Linked DNA regions of Homo sapiens: region 2 is linked to region 1. The links are contacts of gene promoters, found by promoter capture Hi-C in human tissues and cell types (Jung and others, 2019). All regions are on one chromosome and are shown on one strand. Each heading gives the region's core, a stretch centred on a gene start or on the middle of the fragment in contact. The rest is flanking DNA. Distances are from core to core; before and after follow the strand shown. Region 1 holds the start of KCNB2 (potassium voltage-gated channel subfamily B member 2). Region 2 overlaps KCNB2 (potassium voltage-gated channel subfamily B member 2).

What was found. Contacts are between HindIII fragments. The study calls those that stand out against the background at their distance.
Region 2: a contact is called between a fragment that was not itself captured here and the fragment with the promoter of KCNB2 in region 1, in 1 of the 25 tissues and cell types used here (dorsolateral prefrontal cortex).

The regions. Positions count from the first base shown.
Region 1 is chr8:72,534,838-72,538,491 of GRCh38, reverse strand. It overlaps KCNB2 (potassium voltage-gated channel subfamily B member 2), which reads right to left and starts at 1,267. Exons shown (of 3, transcript NM_004770.3): 1 at 607-1,267. RefSeq lists silencers at 1,208-1,257, 1,418-1,477, 1,488-1,537, 1,548-1,677. The HindIII fragment of the contact is 6,044 bases long and covers 1-3,654 here.
Region 2 is chr8:72,917,391-72,921,141 of GRCh38, reverse strand. The region is part of intron 2 of KCNB2 (potassium voltage-gated channel subfamily B member 2); the gene reads right to left. Among named protein-coding and RNA genes, the nearest start is that of KCNB2-AS1, 37 kb to the right of the region's middle. The HindIII fragment of the contact is 3,873 bases long and covers 358-3,751 here.

The DNA.
Region 1 (3,654 bases), core at 18-2,517:
CATACTATTTTGAAGAGGATCATTAAGCATCGGGAGCAAATGATGAGGCAAATGGTCGATGTCTTTTGGTGCTATTCAGGGCAAACGTATTCCCAAGTCCCCTAGCAGAGTGTGTTGGAAACAGCCATGAAGCTCTTTCCTTAGAGACCCGTTCTCCCTCTCAGGAATCGTGCTACAGAACGGAGACCGCGCACCGCTTGAAGAATAAAATGCACGCATGTCTCTGTGTTCTGAGGATCGTTCATACATCAGAGACATCACACTCCCTAAATCCAGTCCCACAAGTGTGTGCATGTGAGTGTGGCATTTACCAACAAATGGACGGAAGGCAACAAGAGCTCGGCTCCTAGAAATAACATCCCCATCCCTTCCCAGTCAGGCTGCTGGGAAGCTTTTCAGGGGCTAATACTTGAGCGCCTTCCCCACCGGGAAGGAGCCTGACATTAAAAACCCTCTCAGGGCTAAGTCAGCTTTGTGTGTAAGTCCACTGGGCGCCATATGGCAGTTTCCAATTCCTTTAGCAACTCAAGTCTGGCTAGGCTGCCGCGATGATTCATTCTTAAAGGAAGACCCCCTTCGGGGAGCAGCAATGCCCCCGCCACTTACCTAGCTCCCACAGACCCCGCTCAGCAGGCGGCACGGGCTCGGGCACCACAAAGGGCTGTGGGATTCCCCGCTCCCTCCGGGGAGCCTCTCCCCGCGACGATCCCCTTCGCCAATGACCTGTCGCTGGAAATCCCCCTCCCCTCCACAGAGAGGAGGGTCTCCCCGGCTGGCTGGAGCTCCCGGCGTGCTTTCCCCCTGTCTTTACATCCCTGACTCTGGTTCACGGTCTCTAGTAGGAAGGCTCAGAGGAAAGGCGGCGGGAGGAAGCTAAGGCATCCTTTAAAAGAACAATAATCTTCATCGATCTTCAACCCCTTCCCCACACGGGGTCCCCATCCCCCTGCCGCCGCCACAGCCACCCAGACAAGAGAGGGCTGGAACAGAAGAGGAAAAATCGAGCGGGGCTGAGCTCGCCGCGCGGAAGGAGCCAGAAAGCGAGCCGCGCCAGCCCGGGAGTTGCCGCTCGCTGGGGCTGCCCGAGGCGCAGCGGCGGCGGCGGCCGCGGGGGCGGAGGGCGGAGGGCGGAGGGCGGTGGGTGCTTGGTGGGTGTGTGTCTGTGGCGGAGCAGGGTAGAGGCTGCGCGCGGGAGGCTAGGCGGGGCGCTCTGGGGCGCCGCTCCCCCGCCCCGCAGCTAGCCGGCCCGGCGCGCACACAGGGCTGCGGCCACCCCAGCCTCCCGCTCCGCCTCCTCCCGCGCTCCGCGCACCCGCGGGCTGGAGCGGCCGCCGCCTTCTCTTCCTCCTCCCCCTCCCCCTCTTCCTCCTCAGCGCTCCCGGCTGTCAAGGTGGGCGGCGGGGCGGGATGGCTGGGCTGCGCGAGCCGGCAGCGCACCGCCGGGGACGCCGGGGCTCTGCCTCGCGGCGCCGGAGCTGTGCGCTCGGCCGGGGACAGCGCTCTGGTGCCCAGGGCGCGGCTGGGGCGCGGGCAGGCACCGCCCACACCTCGGCGGGGTGCCTCCCTCAGCTTCCGCGCGCCAGCCACTCCTGCTGCCCCGGGCCTGGCTCCACACCCACCTGCTTCGCTCTGCAGCTCCCACCCGGCTGCACTGGACTAGAGGGACGCAGCCCCCGCGGCTGCCGCGCACCCGGGGCCGGGAAAGCCCCGGGAGGCCCCGCCGCGACGCGCTCCGGCGGCTTCGCGGGATTCCCTCGGCCCTTCTGCTTCCAACTGCAGGGCTGTCCTCCCGCCCGCCCACAGCAGGACCCTGACCCTGGGCTGACTGCTCGACCCCGGGGAACTGGGGCGAAGACAGATGGCTCCTGAGTGGTGGTGCCAGGATTATTTTCCTGGAGAAAGAGCTGCGGAGATAACTAGGAGCGCAGATAAGATCTGACTTTCCTCGCGGCACCTGCAGCCCCGCTCGCTCGGGGGCCGTCCCTAGCCCCAAGTGACCCGGCTTTCCTGGGTTTGAGGGTAAAGCCGGGTCCGTGGCAACCTTAACCCTTGCTTCTCACGGGGGCGCTCTTCATACCCTTCTTTCTTTCCTTTGCCTATCAACTTACCAGCTGGAAAACTATGCCAAGTTACCCCTTGGCGAGGCCGCAGGGTGAACACTTAGACCTGTACCCACTTCCAGGGCTCGGTAAAGACAATGAACTTGAATAATAACACTGAGCCTTACATATTTCTGACCCCAGTGCTCCTTCACAGGCACGAAATAGAGACAGCTGGCACGGTTACAGGGGCTTTCAGGAAAACAAAGTAGCTTAAAACACCTTTTAGAAACGAACGCAGGCCGTGACAAGTCTATTTAAAGCTGGGACTCCTGAGTTTCTATAGACCAAGAAGGATGGCTGTTGAGGAAGTTCCAAGTACACTGTTTTATTTATATTTATTTATTTATTTATTTATTTATTTTTTCCTTGTATCTTCTGTTTATTGAGTGTTTTTTTAAATTTTATTATTATTATACTTTTAAGTTTTAGGGTACATGTGGGTTTGTTACATATGTATACATGTGCCATGTTGGTGTGCTGCACCCATTAACTCGTCATTTAGCATTAGGTATATCTCCTAATGCTATCCCTCCCCCCTCCCCCCACCCCACAACAGTCCCCGGTGTGTGATATTCCCCTTCCTGTGTCCATGTGTTCTCATTGTTCAATTCCCACCTAGGAGTGAGAACATGCGGTGTTTGGTTTTCTGTCCTTGCGATAGTTTGCTGAGAATGATGATTTCCAGTTTCATCCATATCCCTACAAAGGACATGAACTCATCATTTTTTATGGCTGCATAGTATTCCATGGTGTATATGTGCCACATTTTCTTAATCCAGTCTATCATTGTTGGAACCAAGTACACTGTTTTAAATATACTCCATGTCATCCTTGCCTTAGTTTTAGCCCTGATATGCCCTGGAATGCGCTATCCTCTCTAATTCTCTGCACCTTGACTTCCCACCTCGCTATGGGGAGGTGGCCTTACTTTGTACTGAGGGTTTTTGGTTTTGTGGTGGGTTTTTGTTTTGTTTTGGTTGTTGTTGTTGTTTTGAGGTGTCAGATGTTGGGCGGGATATTTAGCATGGAGGTTGGCCCTTCTGATGTTGTCACCCTCCAGCAAGAAACTGCCCTGCCCTTTGCTCTTCTTGGGGTTTCTCAATTATGAACACTAGGAAGAGGACACCCAGATTCCCAAACTCTTATCCCCAACTCTGGCCTGGTCCCAAGCTCCAGCTCTGCATTTCCAGGGACCTGCAGGCAGTCCATTCCCTCCCGCCCATCCTTTCCACCCTCCCACACAGTTTAAATACTTTCTGCCAATTGCTTTTCCTCACGCAAAACCCTGACCATATCATTTCCCTACTCACAAATATTCCCTGGTGTCCCATTTCCTACCAGACAGCATCTGCCTACCTCTGTGCCATTGCATGCGAGTATCTGGGATACCCTTCTCCAGGTCTTACGTCCAAAGCATTACAGTCCTGGAAGAGTCACTTCAAACTCTGCCTCTTCCATGACTTCTCCCTTTTGGTGTCCGTCGCACAATGTCCCAGCAATCTTTTTAAGACATATATCACCTTCCACTTCCTATACCATGTATTTACTGTGT
Region 2 (3,751 bases), core at 1,045-3,544, 380 kb before region 1:
ATAATAATTATTACACTTTGATGATTCATATGAAGGTAACATGATCCCAATGTTTCTCAAGCTGAACTTTGGATAATTTCACTCAATAAGAGAGAAGGTAGCCTACCTTCCGCGCTCTGCAAAAAGGGACAGAACTCTCGCTCTTTTGACATAACTTTAGCTTAGGACTTCTACAACTTATCTACCTGTTATACCCCTGTGTATACCTTATCTATAGTTTCTGTGTTACGGTCCTATTGGTCCTTTCTTAGCTCTAACATTTGTATTTTTGATCTTTTATTGACTGCTTTTTGTATTCTGTTGTTATTTGGGTTTTGAATAAAGTAGTTTACTTCATAATATTTCCTAGGATATAAGTTGGGGGTTGATACATTTTCATTAATCACTAGCAAAGCTACTTAGTACTTAAATCTTCATCATAAGAAAATGCCATATATTAAATTACACCTGGTCTTTAGTGCTACATTAGGACAGTATTTTTGTTATTATTTTATATTTTGAGACAGTGTCTGGCTCTGTTACCCAGGCTGGAGTGTGGTGGCATAATCGAGGGTCACTGTGACCTCCACCTTCTGGGCTCAAGCCATCCTCCCACCTCAGCCTCAGTATCCTGAGTAGCTGGGACTACAGGTGCACACCACCATGGCCAGCTAATATATATATATATAGATAGATAGATAGATAGATAGATAGATAGATATAGTGGAGAGGGGGTTTTGCCATGTTGCCCAGGCTGGTCAAGTGATTTGCCTGCCTTGACCTCCCAAAGTGCTGGGATTATAGGCACGAGCCACTGTGCCTGGCCAGGACATTATTTTAAACTTCTGATGAAATCCTTCAATATTTAAGCAAAGTTAACATTATTGATAGACTATTGATTGATATTGGTTTCTAAATATGTGGGTTTTTTTCATTATATGATTTGTCTCAAAATAAGAAAAAAGACCCAATTTTTGATTAAGTAAATGTTTATTGAGCTTACATGACTTGAGATCTAGTGATCTTACATGACTTAAGTTATATATAACTTAAGTAATTAATTTTAAAATAATTGACTCAATAGTTTTAAACTATAATATTAGCTTATAGGTCACATTTTGGATTCAAATCTCAATTCTATTGCTCATCTGGCTACGAGGCATCTACTCTTCAGGTAATAGAGGTGATAGCATTGAGATTAGAGCTTAAATATATCTAGTACCTCGTAAGTGCTTTTAAATAGTGGCTAACATTACTGCATATATTCAACAAATAGTCTTCATAGATGAAGACATATGTCTGCAATAATATCTGATTATCAAAGCAAAATTTAACCACCATTGATATTTAGTCTACAGATAAAAATACACCGAGCATATTATGACAAATGTCCAGATAATTTTCACATATAGCCTAAACATTTTCATGTTTAAATTTCTTACTTCCTATGTAGAAGTTTAAAATATTTCTGTAATTTCAAGCTAGGGATCCTCACTTGGTCGAATGCAATCAGTTTGTCAGTGATAGACCTACATATGGTCACTCCATCATAGCCTGTGGCCATGCCTTATTTCCTGTAGCCTGTCAAATATTCATCAGCTGCAAAGGGGAGGTGGCAGGTCATGTCTGAAGGCTACCACACAAATCTTCTCTTCTGATGATGGAAAAAACAGTGGTTGTTCAGAAGCCTATCTTCTGTGTGGTACACAACTATTTTGAATCAGTCCCAGTTTAAAAACTACCCATTACCCCCACCCTCCCAAAAGTCTTTCTTAATCTCCATAGTGAGAATCACTTCCTTCTGTGGTTTTCAGGAGCCTAGGGGCTCTTTAGATGTGCCTTGTGGGGGCCACTGCTGAGAGAAGGAGAAGACTTAGTGGGCAGGGCTATGGGAACTCCACTTCGGCCACGAACCAGGTGGAGCTGTTCCTCCGTATAGTGCTGAAGATGCTTAAATATGTAAAGAAGTGAAAAATTCTCATAGAAACACCTTAATGCTATGGTGTAACATACGCATGCATATAAATACATGCATTTACATATATAAACAGATGTATATCTCCTTTGGAGATGATAATACTGATAAATATTGCTAGCTGTGCTTGAAGATATGGTGAAAAAGACCTGTGGGTGCCCAAAAGCCCTTTCCATTCTATTTACTTACAGATAGATGGTATTTTATTTGTGGCCACAGCTGTTGTTTGCAGAGTTGGTCACTGAGCACAGTGTTGTCTTTTAGACTTCTAGGTTTTCTAAATGCCAGACTAGTTTTGTATATGCCGGGAATCTAAAATTTGACCTCCTAAAACAGGCAGAGGGCATGACTAAACACATTATATTACAATAGCACATAAAACTGCAACCCAATGAGCCCTGGCTGCCACTGGCCAGCTGCACCACATTAAATGGCCTCTAGGAGGCTGAAAGCTTTGTGCACCAGGAGAGACTGAATCATTGATTTTCTCCTACTATTGGAGTAATATTTTATGCTTTTGAATCATTTATATAAACATAATAAAATATACAAAATTCATTTTGCCACATTATTTATAAATTAGTTTAGAATTCCTCAAAAAGGGGAATTTTAGGAATTTTCCCAGATCTGAGTACTTATCTTAAATGCCTATTGAATATGTGTTATTTTCATCAAATTTTTATTTATGCAAATGCAATCCAACAAATACTATCTGTGGCCCTTAGGCTTTCTTTATCTTATTTTCTAAGACATTAAGCTTAGCAAAACAAATTCTAAGCTTTCTACATAAATAAAGGAGTTAACATAATAATAATAAAAAATATGCCCAGTGTCATTCCCACAACCCCATTCTCTCATTGCTTAAATAGTGTTTGCTTCTGAAAGTCTAAGTAGACAAGAGAACAAAGCACAGACAGATGATGACTTAGCACTGCTACAGAAGACACAACTTTTATGCTGCTTGATCTTTTTGCTTTAAAGTTCTCATCCTAATGATATGGTTGGGAGATTGTCAGGTACCACAGATTTGGCAGATAAATAAAGAACACCAAAATTCACAGTAGAAATAGGCTGAAAGGAACTAATTTTCTCTCTGTAAAATCATGACTAGGTAGGTTGAAAATAAGAATATAATTGCCTGTTTGCATATTGGCATTCCTGATCAGCCTGGGAAACACTGTGGGGCAAGTTTTATTTACCTTGGATACCCTTCAGCCTGCTTCCCCTTCTCTCTACACCTTTCACACCTCTTTGGGTCCTTTCTCTTCCCTGTCAAAATATCTGCCCAAGCAACCATTGCCTTCACCTCCTGTTCTACCAACCTGATATCACTATGAGAGTCAGATTATATCTTGACCCATCAGTAGAATTCCATCTTCATCAGTAGAATTTCAGGCAATGGAGATATTTTTGATTAGTGGGGGCTTTTAAATTATACCGCAAAAACATTCACCTATTATACCTAGTTGTAAAGCTGATATTACTGGAAAATATATTTTGGTATAAGGGACCACCATTCTTTTAAAAATTTACCACTTAAATTATATATAACCATCTTTTTCCTTTCCCAATTTCAACACCATTGACAGAATACAAATTGTTTGAACTGAAACCAAAATACTATGTCATGTCACATACAATTGCCAATTAAGAGTATTTTAAATGGAGTTGATTTACTGACTAGGTCTCAGGCTTTTAACTCTGGATTTTTTTCTAATTTTCAATAAAATAACCATATGTTCATTTAATAACAGCATAAATTCTCTATTATTCATATTGTCTCCTTTGCCTTTTTAA